3 separate regions of the Homo sapiens genome follow, and regions 1 and 2 are each linked to region 3. The links are contacts of gene promoters, found by promoter capture Hi-C in blood cells and fetal thymus (Javierre and others, 2016). All regions are on one chromosome and are shown on one strand. Each heading gives the region's core, a stretch centred on a gene start or on the middle of the fragment in contact. The rest is flanking DNA. Distances are from core to core; before and after follow the strand shown. Region 1 holds the start of RWDD1 (RWD domain containing 1). Region 2 holds the start of ZUP1 (zinc finger containing ubiquitin peptidase 1). Region 3 holds the start of NUS1 (NUS1 dehydrodolichyl diphosphate synthase subunit).

Region 1 (2,700 bases), core at 137-2,636, 1.1 Mb after region 3:
GAGCTATACAGGGATAGCTGAGAGACATCTGCCTGTTGGCAAAGCAGAACAAAATTTGCTACCATTGCAAGCAGTGGTCAAAAGGTGAAGCCAAGAAAACTAAGCTAAACAATGAAAGGGAGAGGGGTTGGAATTTATAAGTTAAAGTAATATACCTTACACTATAAATTCTGACTATCAACGATAGGCAACACTCAAAGGAAAGGATGGGGAATGTAAATGCACACACCTAGGTTCTACTCACTCATATTGGCTTTATTTGACCGCTTCTCAAATCTCAGAGGAGCCATATTGATATAGTTATGTAGCATTTTTATAATCATCCGAAGCATGGCTTAATAGAGAAATCTCGTCCTCTAAATTATACCTAATGAACTTCTCATTATAATATTTTACATTAGCCCAACCTACCAAGTAATCTTCTGCTCTCTCAATCTCAGCTGGAGCTGAATCCCAAGTCCCATATGTCTGGAAAGTGAAAGAACAGGCAAGCGTTCTGGACGTATAACTCAGTACCAGCCCTGCCGCTAACTCGCTGGCGGACAGTACAGAGCAAGCCACTTAGCTTTCCTGAACCCCCATGACCTTGGCTTGGAGCAGGAGCCCCAGGATAGATGATGTTTAATCTCCCTTCCAATCTAACAACCTATGAATTTATAGCAGAACGGAAATTTGGGCCACATTATCCATTAGGCATTCTGCTGAATGCCAGATTTTTTTTTTTTTCATAAGAAAAGAAACCCGACAGACTTCAGGGACTATGCTACTCTCAAAACCGATTTGAGTAACTGAAAACAGCACTCTGAATCCTATAAACTAAAACAGCATCGTATGAAAAACAGTTTCTACCTTAATAAAGCTAAAAATGTGAAAACTAACATTCTTGCGGCTGTGGAAAAACGAATCGCACTTGGAGTATTTTTTCTCTTAATGTATTATAAATCTCAGGTTGCTGTAGGTTACACAGAAACCAAAGTAATCCCGACTCAATTTTCAGGCCTGACACCCTCCAACATCACCCGGACTTTTAGATTTCCGGGAACAAGCAGAGAAGGAGAAAAAGTCACTGGGTTGCTGGTAAGTGACTGAAGAACTTGAGGAGTGGAGGGCAAGGTGGCCGCGCGGCCTCAAGGTCCCCTTCTCCACCCCAACCTATGAGGCCCAGAGCTGCGGCAGCTCCTGCCCGTCCTACTCCACCTCGGGGCGGCTACAGGCTTGCGGCCGCGGGAGTCACCTGTGAAGGAGTCAGGGTAGATGGACTCCAGGGCCTCCAGCTCGTTGCGCTGCTCCTCGCCGTAATCTGTCATCGTGGCCCTTGCTCTTGCCCATAGATCGCCCAGACACCTAGGCGGCGCGCAGCAGCCCAGACAGCTGCCGCGCCGGGAGAGCGGGCGGCGGCCAGGCGGGCGCAGGCGCAGAGTCCCCGGCTGGAAGGCCCAGGGCCCAAAGCCAGACCCGGCTTGCTTAACTGCAGCTCCGCGCCGGCCTCCGCCTGCTCCCTACTTCCACGTTCGACTCGTTCTGCCTGGCCAGGGGGCACTGATTTGCTGCCTGTCCCACACTCGCTCGGGACTTGCTGGGACGGTGCGCGCGGTCTGGCATTCGCCAAGGACACCTACAGCCGGCTCCTGGGCTTTGCAGGGCCTGAGCCTTAGAAGCCTCTCAGCGCTGCATCCTCGCTCGATGAGTCTGGGCTGAAAGGCCGGCATCGCGCGTCAGTGAAGGATAGTGTCGCTGGTGGCCGGGCTGGGGCGAGGGGCGTCCGATGCCTTCACCTTTTCTGGTTTCCGGTTTGACGCCGTGGCGTAGGTGCTGCGGGCTTGCAACCTAGTGTGGACTGGTGGGGCTCAGGAGATTTCTGAGCTTCTCGAACTCCGTATTGCTTGGCGTCCTACGGGAGTTGGACGAGAGGCTGGGACCAGTGTAGATTCCACTGGGCAGGGGAGCAAAAGCTCTGCACTGCCTTGAATGAGTATGGAAGGGTCGGTCTAACTGCTTAATAAGTCGGGGTGGATCCAGGAGGGAGAAATAGACCGGAGGTCCGGCTTCTCGGTTCAGATCTTTAGGCTTAACTTCTGATTTTGTGAAATGAACGCAGCTGGACGTATGATAGATCTCAAGATGTCTGTGATTGTGTATTTGTGAATTGATGAAAGGAATGTAGATCTCAGTAATAACAATTATCATATGCAATGTAAAAATTGCAGTACCCCGAGAAATGTTGAGAACCTTTAATTTGGTAATACGACTTCCAAGAATAAACTTGAGCAAGTAGCATGCATCTGTGATCTCCAAAATCATTGCAGCAATTACAAAGAAAATTTTCAAAGAACCATGATGGCAAAAGCTAAGAAAATGGCTAAATAAACATGGTTAGCTTTATGAAAATGATATTAAAAACTATGGTAACAATAATAAAGGATCCCATGTTCCTTTATTATATTATTGCGCTAAGTCGAAAAATGGAAAATTTTAAGAAAATACTCAAAAGCTGTTGCCCACTTTTCTGTATTTTTCTTTGTTTTGATTTCTCTGTATTAAAGCTGGTTTCACTGGTATAGTGGGAGGAACACTTTTTAAATGAAAGATTCCTAATGATGAAGCCCCTGAAGCACCAGAAGGCACCTTGATCTTTTATTGAGGAGTGCTGCTTACCTATAGCAGAGGAACACTTTGATACTGATTCCGTGTTTACGGTAT
Region 2 (2,700 bases), core at 136-2,635, 1.0 Mb after region 3:
TGACCTCAAATGATCTGCCCGCCTCGGCCTCCCAAAGTGCTGGGATTACATATGTGAGCCACTGAGCCTGGCCAATCCAGTTTTATTTTCTTCATAGCACTTATCATGATCAGTTAATTTACTTTTTATTTCCTCTACCTCACCAGCATGTAAGCCTCAAAAATCCTGAATTTTGTGTATTTTGATTACTGCTGCAGCTCCTGTTGCAAGCAAAACGCCTTTCTAATAGACACTCTTTAAATATTTGTTGAATGAAATAAAGCCTGAATGACAAGATATTTGTGATTTTGGGCTAACATGGTGGCTCACACTTTGGGAGGCCGAGATGGGAGGATCATTTGAGGCCAGGAGTTCGAGGCTGCGGTGAGCTATTTTAGCCACTGTGCTCTGGCCTGGGTGACAGAAAGAGTCCTCCTCTCTAAAAATACATACATACGGCCGGGCACGGTGGCTCACGCTTGTAATCCCAGCACTTTGGGAGGCCGAGGGGGGCGGATCACGAGGTCAGGAGATCGAGACCATCCGGGATAACACGGTGAAACCCCATCTCTACTAAAAATACAAAAAATTAGTCAGACGTGGTGGCGGGCGCCTGTAGTCCCAGCTACTTGGGAGGCTGAGGCAGGAGAATGGCGTGAACCCGGGAGGCGGAGCTTGCAGTGAGCAGAGATGGCACCACTGCACTCCAGCCTGGGCGACAGAGCAAGACTCCGTCTCAAAAAATATATATATATACATACATACATACATACAAACCAAGATATTTGTTATCTTGTAACCTTGAGGAAAGAACCTGGTATCCTTTACCTTCGGTGCATAGCTGGGAGCTTGATACCTAGCAGCATTATAAACCCTTTATTGATACTAAAATAGAGTGCTACTCAGCAGGCCCTAGTGTAGACTGCTATTTGCCCCAGGACCTGCCCTGTGAACTCATTCAGATTAAGTATGAATGACCTCAGAGCCCGGTTTTCTCTCCTAGCAATTGAGTGGCAGGAAACTCGATGGGAGAAGGAAAAACTCGGAAATGGGAGGAATGCAAAAATGACTACATCTCTCAGGAGATCGAGACCATCCTGGCTAACACGGTGAAACCCCGTCTCTACTAAAAATACAAAAAATTAGCCAGGCATGGTGGCGGGCGCCTGTAGTCCCAGCTACTCGGGAGGCTGAGGCAGGAGAATGGCGTGAACCCGGGAGGCGGAGCTTGCAGTGAGCCGAGATCGCGCACTGCCCTCCAGCCTGGGCAGCAGAGCGAGACTCCGTCTCAAAAAAAAAAAAAAAAAAAAAAGACTACATCTCCCAGAATGCACTGCATAGAGACCGGCGTGGAGCGGCGCATTCTGGGATTACTTCTTTTCCGTGGGAGTAAGGAAGTGCTTTTGAATGAGGTACTGAGGGCCAAGGTGTTGGAAGTTCCTAATTCTTTCCTCGGTTAACTGTGAAACTCTGCGTATTGGGAAGGCCTGGCCTCAGTCATCAGGCCAGGAGAGGTACTGGACGCCGCGCACGCACTCGTCTGCCAGCGAGGCCCAAAGGGGAAGCCTAGCGGAGCTCAGTGTGGCAGCTGCTGGCCTCTGGGCCGGTAAGAATTGATGGTCCCCTCCCTTATTCCCCAGGCCCAAAGCTTTGACCCAGTTAGTGCCTGCTAGTTTCGTGTGCCTGGCTTGTGCCTTTGGCGCGGAACGTTTGGGAGACTCGGCCTTGCGGTCTTCTGACCTCACCCACCACGTACCTAGCTTGGCACTGGGTCCTTCATGCCTCTCACTCGCTTCCTCTGAGGCACCTGGGTACTCTCTTGTCTCTTACCCGCTTAATCTGAGTCCATGTCCAAGTTCATCATTCTGTGTCTGACCGTGTCCCAGCCACCGGAAGAGAAGAAACTCCGGGTGTGACATTAATCCCACTGGGGGCTCGGGAGAACTGCCTTCTAAAATCAGAGACTGTATCCATTTGTCTGGAGAGAAATGAAAAAAATAAGGACAATGTAGGGAGGTATTTTAAAGGTAAATTTATTTAAATGAAGTGATAGTGTCATTACTTTTCCTGTTTGATTTTAAATAGTCTTTAGCTGAACGATGACCTGTAGTAGGAAGGTGGTGGCGAAGTGATTGCTTTTTTTAAAATTATTTTTTTAACACTTTTATGTCAGTAGTCAGTACTTTATTTGTCCATAAAATCCAAAAATAACTACCTTTGGATTTTACAGTAGTCTTTGACTGAACCTCAGAGAGATGAGATTCCTTACCCAAAATGATGAATCTGAAATTATTACCCAGTTCTCTTGACTCTGGAATAAGTGCTTTTTTCTACTATACCACTTCTGCTTTTATTCTTGGGGCTGAGAGTACAGGCTGTGGAGCACGACGGGGTTGGCATTTTGGCTTCCACCTTTTTCTGCTTGTGGTGACCTGTCTGAGCCAGAATTTCTTTATGTGTAGAGCGATAATAATAGTACTTAAATTACAATAATAGCACTTAAATAGCACTTGATACATGTAAGACTCTAAGTTTACAGTGTTAAACTCTACTTGTAAGATGTGTTTATTTACCTCCTCAATATAATCAGCTTCAGTATTCAGTATTTAGATATATCAGTTGATAAATAGGTTTCTTCTCTTCATTTTTTTCTTACCTGATTTATCTTACCTGGACAATTTTTTAAACGTTATTTTTTCTCCACCTTGGGCCAGAGACATT
Region 3 (2,700 bases), core at 100-2,599:
CTCTCTTAAAGAAACAGTGTGGTGTAACCAAAGGCAAAGATTGTGAAAAAGCACAGAATGGCTAAAATTCCAATATCCTCATTCCGATCTTTGTGGCCCCATTACGATCTTGTGGCCTTGGGCAAATCAGTTAATGTTTTTAAACCTTGGCAAGGGTATACAAATACCATCTACATTACTGCAGTATTATAACGAATAAGAGATTTTTTATTTATTTTTATTTATTTATTTACTTATTTGAGACAGAGTTTCGCTCTTGTTGCCCAGGCTGGAGTGCAGTGGCGCGATCTCGGCTCACCACAACCTCCGCCTCCCGGGTTCCAGCGATTCTCCTGCCTCAGCCTCCCTAGTAGCTGGGATTACAGGCATATGCCACCACGCCCGACTAAACTTGTATTTTTAGTAGAAACGGGGTTTCTCCATGTTAGTCAGGCTGGTCTCGAACTCCCGACCTCAGGTGATCCGTCCGCCTCGGCCTCCCAAAGTGCTGGGATTACAGGCATGAGCCACCGCGCCCGGCCAAGGGATATTTTTAAAATGTTAAAAAGCTACTGAGTCAAATCCAGAGAATTAGTAGGTGTTCAATAAAGCTGATCTCCCTTCCTCGAAAGCGCTAGCGCTGTGATTTGCAGAGAGGCCGCGGCAACTCGTGCCATGGGCACCACCCGCCAGACCAGCGGTCTAGCGGTCCAAGACGCCTCGGCCACCCCCCACCACCGCACCGGGCCTCACCTTGGTGGTCGTAGACGCTAATGTAGGAGATGCCCACGGCCATACACCACACCACGAGGCTCGCGATGTCCGAGAAGCTGGGTTCCTGCTCCACCTCGGTGATCACCAGGCCCATATGCACAGGCAGCTTCTCCAAGGAACGACCGTCCGCGCGCCAGCGCATCCGGTGGTGTGCGGCTGCCAGGCACGACCCCCCGCGCGGGTGCCGGTGGTGACGGCGGTTCCTGCCGACTGCCGGGGGCTTGCGGAGCGTGAAGCCGAGCGGCGCTAGGACCGCGGCAGAGGCGGCGCGGCAGCAGCGCCGCCAGATCCAGTTCCAGGTGCCGAACCGAACGCGGAGCCAGGAGGTGAGCGTGCGGTGCAGACAGAGCAGCGCGTGCAGCACCCGCCACACCAGCTCGTACAGCCCCGTCATACTCTTGTGGCCCTCAGACACCCCCTCTCCCTCCCGCCCACTCCCGCAGCGCGACGGCTTTTTATCCGCCCCTGCGGCCGGCGCGGGCCATCGCTCCGCGTCCCCCCGCCCCCCGAGCCCGAACCCCTTTCCACTGCCAACACCTCACCTCGCCCCCGCCGCCATCTTCCTCCTCCCTTGGCAGCCCCGCCCCCAGTAGTACATGGACAGTTCCGATTGGCCAGCGTGGAATTCTGACGCGGCTTCTGGGTCCGAGAACGTGGCCCGTTCCGGCGCAGTGAGGGAAGGCGCACGCCTGCGAACTAGCCGGGCCGATACCGCGGGCGCCCCCTGGTCGCGTGGAGGGCGATGAGCGAACGACCCGGGACTTGTCTGAATGGGACCCCAGCAAGGCACACGTGGTCTTCAATGCGATGGGCGCTTCCAGGGGACCCGGCGTCCCTTGGGTCCAGGAAGTCTTATACTGTCTCCTCTCACGGCCCCGACAGAAACGGTTTCTGAGGAGTAGAAGTGTCCTAAGTGGATTGGAAATTACAAATGCCGGAAAGAACCTAGGGATGGAAAGCAGCCCTCAGTAAGTGTTGATGCTGGGAATCCACCAGGGTTTCCAAAAGTGTCCTCAAAGGCTGGAGTGATCCTGCTACTGTCCTTTATTCAGCCTCCCGGCTGAGGCTGGGAGCGAGGCTCTTTAGCCATGTTCCTGAAACACCCCTCTACCCATGTCATTCTCATCTAAGGTATCCTTTCCTGGCTGTACATTGCTTAATAGAGGCTCTACAGCTTGGCAGTCCAGTCACTTAATTCTTTTTTTTTTTTTTTTTTTTTATTCGGCAAGACTTTGACCAACCGCCGTGGGTTAGGTTTACAGTGGGGAAAAAAAATAGAAATTGTGCCTGACTTCAATGACCGCCACTATTTGAAGCAAACTGCCCATCCAAGCCTTATCATCCCCTTTAACACCCTAATGTTTCTGTCCATGTGGACTTCGACGTGGTCCTCTAGAATGGTTTTGTACTTCCCCGCGGTAAGTCTGTACTGTCTTTGCCCTTTTTGTTCAAGCTCTTCTCCTGAATTCCTGATTCCCGACTTGGTATTGCCGACATTCCAACCCATTTCTCAAGGTTTATCCTACATGCTACATCCTCTATCATCATATATATGTGTGTGTGCAACAATAATATTTATATTATTTGCATTTATATTTATATAAGTATATATATAAAGATTAGGGAGGTATTACAAAAATGCAACTGTACACATACACACGTATACACACATATTTACACACGTGTGTGTGTGTAAACAGTTGCGTTTTTGTAATACCTACCTATTCTTTGTTCGCTAAAGCCTCTTTTTCCCCCTGGGAAACATCTGTTCACGTCTTGGCTATGTGACTTAATTTTTCTAACATTGTCACTTTTTCAACTAGTCTCATTTTGGTTTCTAAGACTCATTTAACTTTACTTTAAAAGTTGAATCTCATGTCCATCTCCCTTTCGCAGTGCAATTTTCCTCCCTTTGGCAGTGCAGCCTGAAGAACTGAGGGCTGGGCA

What was found. The method cuts DNA at HindIII sites, captures the fragments that hold promoters and counts their contacts. A CHiCAGO score of 5 or more calls a contact.
Region 1: a contact is called between the fragment with the promoter of RWDD1 here and the fragment with the promoter of NUS1 in region 3, in 5 of 17 cell types (total CD4 T cells, non-activated CD4 T cells, naive CD8 T cells and 2 more). The highest score is 10.0, in total CD4 T cells.
Region 2: a contact is called between the fragment with the promoter of ZUP1 here and the fragment with the promoter of NUS1 in region 3, in 8 of 17 cell types (total CD8 T cells, total CD4 T cells, monocytes and 5 more). The highest score is 10.5, in total CD8 T cells.

The regions. Positions count from the first base shown.
Region 1 is chr6:116,570,190-116,572,889 of GRCh38, reverse strand. RWDD1 (RWD domain containing 1) reads right to left here and starts at 1,386. Exons shown (of 7, transcript NM_015952.4): 1 at 1,235-1,386. The coding sequence starts at 1,307. RefSeq lists enhancers at 1,132-1,231, 1,452-1,781, 1,812-1,991 and a silencer at 1,332-1,411. The HindIII fragment of the contact is 4,586 bases long and covers 1-2,700 here.
Region 2 is chr6:116,667,451-116,670,150 of GRCh38, reverse strand. ZUP1 (zinc finger containing ubiquitin peptidase 1) reads left to right here and starts at 1,385. Exons shown (of 10, transcript NM_145062.3): 1 at 1,385-1,585. RefSeq lists an enhancer at 1,361-1,550 and a silencer at 2,312-2,461. The HindIII fragment of the contact is 3,066 bases long and covers 1-1,629 here.
Region 3 is chr6:117,674,118-117,676,817 of GRCh38, reverse strand. It overlaps NUS1 (NUS1 dehydrodolichyl diphosphate synthase subunit), which reads right to left and starts at 1,349. Exons shown (of 5, transcript NM_138459.5): 1 at 733-1,349. The coding sequence starts at 1,147. LOC101927919 (a long non-coding RNA gene) reads left to right here and starts at 1,534. Exons shown (of 3, transcript NR_110854.1): 1 at 1,534-1,721; 2 at 1,983-2,171. The HindIII fragment of the contact is 6,476 bases long and covers 1-2,700 here.